Regions from separate parts of the Homo sapiens genome. Here region 2 is linked to region 1. Evidence: promoter capture Hi-C in 16 types of primary human blood cells and fetal thymus (Javierre and others, 2016). All regions are on one chromosome and are shown on one strand. Each heading gives the region's core, a stretch centred on a gene start or on the middle of the fragment in contact. The rest is flanking DNA. Distances are from core to core; before and after follow the strand shown. Region 1 holds the start of KCTD11 (potassium channel tetramerization domain containing 11). Region 2 overlaps LOC105371512 (a long non-coding RNA gene).

The links. Contacts are between HindIII fragments. The CHiCAGO score rates a contact against its expected background, and 5 or more counts as called.
Region 2: a fragment that was not itself captured here is called in contact with the fragment with the promoter of KCTD11 in region 1 in 3 of 17 cell types (M0 macrophages, M2 macrophages and naive B cells); the score reaches 8.1 in M0 macrophages.

Annotation. Positions count from the first base shown.
Region 1 is chr17:7,350,045-7,354,113 of GRCh38, forward strand. It overlaps KCTD11 (potassium channel tetramerization domain containing 11), which reads left to right and starts at 2,118. Exons shown (of 1, transcript NM_001363642.1): 1 at 2,118-4,069. The coding sequence starts at 2,782. The coding sequence ends at 3,597. ACAP1 (ArfGAP with coiled-coil, ankyrin repeat and PH domains 1) reads left to right here. Exons shown (of 22, transcript NM_014716.4): 19 at 1-10; 20 at 83-193; 21 at 906-955; 22 at 1,251-1,433. The coding sequence ends at 1,351. RefSeq lists silencers at 167-306, 1,187-1,246, 1,317-1,376, 1,427-2,196. The HindIII fragment of the contact is 3,784 bases long and covers 1-3,480 here.
Region 2 is chr17:7,136,982-7,141,050 of GRCh38, forward strand. It overlaps LOC105371512 (a long non-coding RNA gene), which reads left to right. Exons shown (of 3, transcript XR_934191.3): 2 at 257-817; 3 at 3,697-3,782. It also overlaps the pseudogene RPL7AP64. Among named protein-coding and RNA genes, the nearest start is that of ASGR2, 24 kb to the left of the region's middle. The HindIII fragment of the contact is 880 bases long and covers 1,853-2,732 here.

The DNA of each region.
Region 1 (4,069 bases), core at 868-3,367:
GCCACACGGGGTAGGGATGATGGCATGGGGAGGAAGGCTGGGAGAAGTTGGGCGGCCGGCTGACCCTGGCTCTTCTCTCCAGGCTCGCCTGCCTGTTCCTGAAACGGGGAGCTGATCTGGGGGCTCGAGACTCTGAAGGCAGGGACCCTCTGACCATCGCCATGGAAACAGCCAACGCTGACATCGTCACCCTGTAAGAATGCCTGAAGGGGCGGGGCTGGCGCTGGGACTCCCCCCACCCCCGCCCACCCACGTTCGGGCGGGCGGGCGGGGCTGACGCCGAAACAGAAGCCTGTGCTGTGGGGCCTCGGAAAGGGGCTGGGCCAGCGCCGGGGCCAGGCTCGAGAAAGGCTGCGCGAAGTGTGCACTGGGACGTGGAGTAGAAGGCAGGCGGGAGGGCGGGCAGGGTGCAAGGATGCTTGGCCCACCCTGAGAGGCGTAATTCGCCCATCAACATTGCTGTCAGGCATCTTTTTAGCACTAGACGTGACCCCGGGGGTGGGGGCAGATGAACGGAACGCAACCCAGCTCAAAGGATGGGAAGTTGTGGGGGAGGTGAGGATAGTCTTTTTTTTTTTTTTTGAGACGGAGTCTCACTCTGTCGCCCAGGCTAGAGTGCAGGGGCGCGATCTCGGCTCACTGCAACCCCCGCCTCCCGGGTTCAAGCGATTCTCCTGTCTCAGCCTCCCCTGAGTAGCTGGGACTACAGGCGTGCGCCACCACCCCCGGCTAATTTTTTGTATTTTTAGTAGAGACGGGGTTTCACCATGTTGGCCAGGACGGTCTCGATCTCCTGACCTCGTGATCCGCCTGCCTCGGCCTCCCAAAGTGTTGGGATTACAGGCGTGAGCCACCGCGCCCGGCCAAAGATAGTGTCGTTCATTTCTTAATTCCCTCCTCTTCAGGCTACGACTGGCAAAGATGAGGGAGGCTGAAGCGGCCCAGGGGCAGGCAGGTAAAGAATACACCCACCCCACCCCCCAGGCCCAACACCTGAACTCTGGGCTTCTGGTCCACGGTGACCTCTCTCCCTAGTGCCCAGCTGCATTCATTCCGTTATTTAACAAATGCGTATTGGGCGCATGCGACGTGCCAGGCCCTGGCAAGGCATAGGTGCTGGCGCAGTGCCCGCGGCGCGCACGTTCCCACCCAGGCTCGGAGCGCGAGGTCCCCAGGTGGGCCCCAACCGCCGGATCCTGCCCTTCTGCACTGGGGCCCAGCCGCCTCCCGGCCTTTCCTCCCTCCCCCAGGAGATGAGACGTATCTTGACATCTTCCGCGACTTCTCCCTCATGGCGTCAGACGACCCGGAGAAGCTGAGCCGTCGCAGTCATGACCTCCACACGCTGTGACCCGAGGCCCACGGGGCCCGCGCCTGCCTCCCTTCCCCGCCACCGGGCCCTCTGCCATTAAAGCCTCCGTGCTTCGCTCTTCCCTTCTGGTTCACTTCTTGGGCGCCACCTTCGGGCCCGTAGGGTGTTGGGCGCTGCGGCTCCCGAGGTGCGGGGAGCAGCTGGGGGTTTGCGAGCTCCAGTCCAGCAAGGTGCGACTCCGGGGAGCGAGGCGGCAGCTTCGGCCGCGGCCTGAGCGCAGGGCGCTGCGGGGCGGGGGCTCTCGGGCTGGGGCGACGTGGCCAGCCCAGTCCTGCCGAGGGGTGGGGCTGGCCCTGGGGCTCGCTGGCCCCGCGCCGCCGCGGAGAGAGCGCGCCCGGGCCACCCCGGCTGGAAGGCATCCCCGGAATGCGGCGGCTCAGCACCCGCCCCCTCGGGAATTCCCCGGGGGAGCCGCTGGGAGGGACTCGGCTCCCGGGCTGGGCCGGCCGGGCCTCGGGCTCTGAGCGGTGGGATTAGAGGCTCCAGCCCCGCCGACTTGCAGACGTGAGATCGGGCACACCTGAGCGGCGGCGGGGCGGTCGTGGCCACATCCGGGGCGACGTGCCTGAGTCACCCCGTCCCGCCAGCGTCTGCCAGTCCAGCCAGTCCGCCCAGTCTCTCGCGTCCGAGACTCGCCTCCAGCCTCCCACCTCCGCCCGGGCCGCGCGAGCCTCGCGGGGGCGGGGGCGGGGCGCCAAGGGGCGGGGCTGTCTCTTAAAGGGCCCCGGGCCGCTGCCCTTAGGCCACTTCCTGGGGGCGGAGAGGACCTCAGCGGCTGCGGCGACACCCAGGGAAGGCGGCGCGGCCGGGTCCCGAAACTCCTGGCTGTTTCCATCAGAGCCCTCGGACACTCCCAGCCCGGGCTGAGCACGCATCGTCGCTCCCCGGCGGATACAAGGGGGCTCCGCCATCCGCTCCCGTCAGTTCGGCCTCCATCTCCTGGGACCCGCGCCGGCAGCCAGGCCAGGCCTCTGAGTGGCCCCAGAGCCCTGGCTGGACTCGTCCACGGCGGCAGCGATCTGCCCGGGGTCTCGGAGGCCATCCCTTCAGAGTCGGCCCTGTGCTCGCCACCGTCACCTGCTGGTTGGATTCCGGAAACCCACTGTCTGAAGACCACAGAGGGGTGTCGCTGACCACCCCAAATCGGATACGTCCAGACCTCAAGCTCCCTTCCCCTCTCTGGCTGCCCTCTGCTCTTTTCATCTCTTCTCTCAACCTTTTGGGGATTTCTGTGTCCTGACACCACCTCCCCATCCACCACCAAAGTAGCCGGGGTGAGCCCCAAACCTTACTGGGTGTGCTCCACCTGTGCCTCCAACCCAGCGAATCTGACAGCTTCGACCCAATTCTGCACACACCCAGGAAGTTCTGCCTTTTCTTTTCTTTCGGTGTCTCCTGTACTTCCCAAAATTTCTCCTCCTCCTGTGCCCTCTTCGCCCCCCTCCTTTGGGGGCCCCGTGACCCTGAATGTGGGGGGCACACTATATTCCACCACTTTGGAGACCCTGACCCGCTTCCCAGACTCTATGCTGGGGGCCATGTTTAGGGCCGGCACCCCCATGCCCCCCAACCTCAATTCCCAAGGAGGCGGCCACTACTTCATCGACCGGGATGGCAAGGCCTTCCGGCACATCCTCAATTTCCTGAGGCTGGGCCGCCTGGACCTGCCCCGTGGGTACGGAGAGACAGCGCTGCTCAGGGCAGAGGCTGACTTCTACCAGATCCGGCCCCTCCTGGACGCGCTGCGGGAACTGGAGGCCTCTCAGGGGACCCCTGCACCCACAGCTGCCCTGCTCCACGCAGATGTAGATGTCAGCCCCCGCCTGGTGCACTTCTCTGCTCGCCGGGGACCCCATCACTATGAGCTGAGCTCCGTCCAGGTGGACACCTTCCGAGCCAACCTTTTCTGCACCGACTCTGAGTGTCTAGGTGCTTTGCGGGCCCGATTTGGTGTGGCCAGTGGGGATAGGGCAGAGGGGAGCCCACATTTTCATCTGGAGTGGGCCCCCCGCCCCGTGGAACTCCCCGAGGTGGAGTATGGGAGACTGGGGCTGCAGCCGCTGTGGACTGGGGGGCCAGGAGAGCGGCGGGAGGTGGTGGGCACCCCAAGCTTCCTGGAGGAGGTGCTGCGGGTGGCTCTCGAGCACGGCTTCCGACTAGACTCTGTCTTCCCCGACCCCGAAGACCTGCTCAACTCCAGGTCTCTGCGCTTTGTCCGGCACTGAGGATGCTGTTCTCAGTTTGACTGTGGGGAGGAGAGAGAATGGGGTACTAGCACCCCTGAAGCCTCTTTCCAGCTCTGCTTCAGGAGCTATGAGAGTCGGGACTCTCCTGCACCTGACTGGAGCTCAGATGTGGGCAGGAATTCCCAAACCTGAGCCCACCAAGGACTCACAAGTGGTCCAGAAGGTCTCAACCTGTGCTGACCCTGGGAGGGGTAGGGAAGGTTCTCTCAGCTTGTTCTTGCCTAAGGCTGAGCACCTCCAGTCTCTCCTTGATTTGGAGCTCAGTGTTTAAGGGCTTGGAAAAGGGGGGAACATCTCTTTACCCAGACTAGACCTAGCAAAACCCTGGAAGGATATTGAGGTCTGGGGAAAAGGGAGGACTTTGCATTTTCCCAATGCGGTCTCTTGGACCATGGCTTCTACTCCTGAAGCTGGGTGGCCTGGCCTGGCCTGACCAATGAGAGGCCAGAAC
Region 2 (4,069 bases), core at 1,043-3,542, 210 kb before region 1:
TTCACATCTTAGAGTCGAAAAAGGCTTGCGAAGCCCCTAAAGGTGTTGAGGCAGCTTGGCCTGAGACCGTGATAGCTTCTGTTTCATCCCCAGATCTATTACATGGAGTTCAGAAACCAGGACGATTGCATTTATAAGCCCCAAATTTAAAAGATTATTTGAAAAAGAGCTTCTTGAGTTTTACTCTTGATACACTAAATGCAATCCACAGCCTCTCTGCCCTAACAGACTTTCGTGTTCCTTCCCTCTTTTATAGTAAAATTAGGAAGTGGGGAGACGGGACAAGTAAGTAAGGGAATCTGCACAGGCTGAGCAACCCCACCCTCAGCCTTGCTGAGTTCTCTCCACCCAGAGGACACTGTACTCCTGCTCTGGGAAGACAGCGCCTCCCGCCAGGGGATTCCGCCAACCACCGCTCCCTGCAATCGGGGTTACCAGTGATGATTCTTCCCCCAGCATCACCCTACGGTGTCTTGGCAGCCTGCCTCCTTCACAGACTGCCTCGAGAGTCCCTCAGAGCTATTTCCTTAAAGACCAAATGCGAGCATATCTTCACTGACGGGGTTTCAGAGCCTCACTTTGCAAGTTTTGAGGCAGAGGCTCAAACTAATTTTGCTGAGAAGGACAGGAGAGCTGAGAGAAAATCAAACAGAACGGCGGCTCTCCTCCCATTCATGGCATGTAATGCTCTGGGCCCAGCTACATCTGCCATGGCCTCCAGGGACCTGCTGGAGGGGTCTCCCAGCCCCACCTGGTATAAGCCAAGCCTGCTCCAGACTCAGGATCTGCCCAGAGGGCTGGGATCTCACAGCCTGAGGTAAGCATGAGTCAGTCTGAATGTAATCTACCCTCCCTACACCCCTTCCCAGCCCCAGCCTCTCTGAGGGGTCTCATAGCCACCCAGCCTGCCTGTGACCTTTGCTGGCTATAGCTTTTCTTCCCATTAACTTTTTTTGTTTTGTTTTTGAGATGGAGTTTCACTCTGTCGCCCAGGCTGGAGTGCAATGGCGCGATGTTGGCTCACTGTAATCTCTGCTTTCCAAGTGCAAGCAGTTCTTCCCCCTCAGCCTTCCAAGTAGCTGGGACCACAGGCACCCACCACCATGCCCGGCTAATTTTGGTGTTTTTAGTAGAGACAGAGTTTCACCACGTTGGCCAGGCTGGTCTCGAACTCCTGACCTCAGGTGATGCGCCCGCTTCGACCTCCCAAAGTGCTGGGATTACAGGCGTGAGCCACCATGCCCGGCCCCCATTAACTTTTAATAATAAAACATGGTGGCCAGGCGCGGTGGCTCACGCCTGTAATCCCAGCACTTTGGGAGGCTGAGGTGGGCAGATCACGAAGTCAGCAGATGGAGACCATCCAGGCTAACACGGTGAAACACCCCGTCTCTACTAAAAATACAAAAAAATTAGCCGGGCGTGGTGGCGGACGCCGGTAGTCCCAGCTACTCCGGAGGCCGAGACAGGAGAATGGTGTGCACCTGAGAGGCGGAGCTTGTGGTGAGCCGAGATTGCACCGCTGCACTCCAGCCTGGGCGACAGAGCAATACTTCATCTCAAATAATAAAATAATAATAATAATAATAAAAACATGCTGCCTGATTACAGGAACTTAAACTTGTTTTGTTTACCCAAGCTGACATGTAAAAGTTACTAATAACTTCTTTGTCTAGGCAAGTTAGCAAATGACTTTGTAAGCACTGAGCAGCTCCCCTTAACTGTTTAAGTGGGAAGCCAGCCGTCGCCTACCCCAGGCAGGGGAGGCAGGACTTCTCCAGTGGCTCAGGGGAGACTGCCCTTCTTTGCCAGTTTTGGTTTGCAGACAGGTCACTGAAAGGTGGGGCCAAAAAGCTTCTGTGAAGCAAAGAAATTTGAGACCCTAGTCCCTTTCTTTTGGAGATCTAATGTCCTTAGAACCTCTGTGATGAACAGAGGCTCTAGCTGAAGTCCACTGACGGGGAAAGGCACCAAAGGGCCCGAGGGAAGCCCATCATGACTGAAGAGGAAATAGAACAAGTGACCCTGTGTCTTAGTCAGCTTGCACTGCCATTGCAAAACACCACGGACTGAATGGCTTAAACAAAAAAAAAACATTTCTTTCTCACAGTTCTGGAGGCTAGGAAGCCCAAGGTGAAGGTACCGGCAGATCCAGTGTCTGGGGAGGGCTCACTTCCTGGTTTACAGACAGCCACCTTCTTGCTGTGTCCTCACGTGGATGAGAGAGCACACTCTGGCCTCCTTCTCTTCCAACAAGGGCACAAATCCTATCGTGGGGACCCCACCCTCACAACCTCATCTAAATGTAATTATCTCCCAAAGGCCCCACCTCCAAATATCATCACACTGTGGAGTAGGGCTTCCACCTATGAATCCGGGGTGGGGAGGACAGAAACATTCAGTCCCTAGAATCCTGTATCAGTGCTAAGGCCTGGTAGGGTTTGTGAGGGAAGCCGCGTTTGGCACAGGCTGAAGGTGCCCCCTCACCAGATAGAGGCTGAGAAGATGTGCTTTGAGGACCTCTGCTGAGCAGGGCTATGAACTGAAGTGTTTTTTCCTCTGGAGCCCGAGGACACGGTGCAGTTGCTCAGCAGCACTAAGGAGGGACTGGGTGTGCCCTGAGCAAGCTGTCATTGGGGGTTAAAGACTGAAACTGTCACAGCCTAGGTGCCTAGTGGCTTCCGGGACAGAGCTAAGCAGGGCACAACAGGGGTAGACGGTCTGTTCCATTAAGCTTTTGAAGCTCGTTGTCTGAGGTAATACCCAAGGTTCATCGTCTCATGCCAAGGAAATTGAGGATGCAGGCACACACGACGAGTGAGTTTAAGAGCAGAGGTTTAATAGGCAAGAGAAAGAAAAGCTCTCTCTCCTGCAGAGAGGGAGGGGCTCCCAAGTCGGTCTTCTGGCTCCGAGGTGAAATGCACTGGGTGTTATAGGTGAGCTTGAGGAGGCAGTGTCTGATTTGGAGGTTTTGCCTTGTTTTGTTTTGTTTTGTTTTTGAGACAGAGTTTCGCTCTTGTTGCCCAGGCTGGAGTGCAGTGGCACGATCTCGGCTCACCGCAACCTCTGCCTCCCAGGTTCAAGGGATTCTCCTGCCTCAGCCTCCCGAGTAGCTGGAATTACAGGCATGCACACCACGCCCGGCTAATTTTTGTATTTTTAGTAGAGACGGGGTTTCACCATGTTGGTCAGGCTGGTCTCAAACTCCTGACATCAGGTGATCCACCCGGCTCAGCCTCCCAAAGTGCTGGGATTATAGGCGAGAGCCGCCGCACCCACCCGGCCAGGCAGTGTCTGATTTACACAGAGCCCAAAAGATTGCGGGACCAGGTATGCCATTTACATAGTGCAAGAAGAAGCTGGCCGCCCCACCCTAATCTTTTATTATGCAAATGGATTCTCTACCTGGTTGGCATCATGTTGCTGCTTCCTTTACTGTACAGGTGGTTGATAAGGAAAAGGGAAGATGAAGCCTCCATGTTGAACATGCCTGGCCCCAGGTAGCCTTTTCCGATTGGCACGGCTGCCGCCATTCACCCGTTCAAGCTTCCAGCTTGCCTGTCAATGTCTGCAGCTCGATTTTACAGGCTGCTCTTTGTTAGAAAAGAAATGATGTGGGGGCTGCTTTTTGTTAAAAGGGATGCCTTACCGAGGACTCTCTTACCCTCACCAACTGCCTAAGTAATTTCTTTTTAGCTCCCGTATTACTGCATCAAACTATAGCCAGATCCACGGTGACTACAGCGCAGCCACGGCAGGGGTGGCCTCTGGCTGAGCGGGACTTGTTTGCAGCAGCAGCATCTGGTGGCAATCGCAGAAATAAGAAGGCAGTCGAGGCCGGGCACAGTGGCTCATTGCTCATTGCTTGAACCCAGCAGGCAGAGGTTGAAGTGAGCCAAGATCGCGCCACCGCACTCCAGCCTGGGCAACAGAGTGAGACTCCGTCTCAAAAAAAAAAAAAAAAAAAAAAGAATTTCGGCATTTGAGAAAAGGCTTAAGAATCTGGCATTGAACAGGCTATCCAGCCCAAAAGGGACCTCACCTGCTTTGTTGATTGTTGAATGGCCCA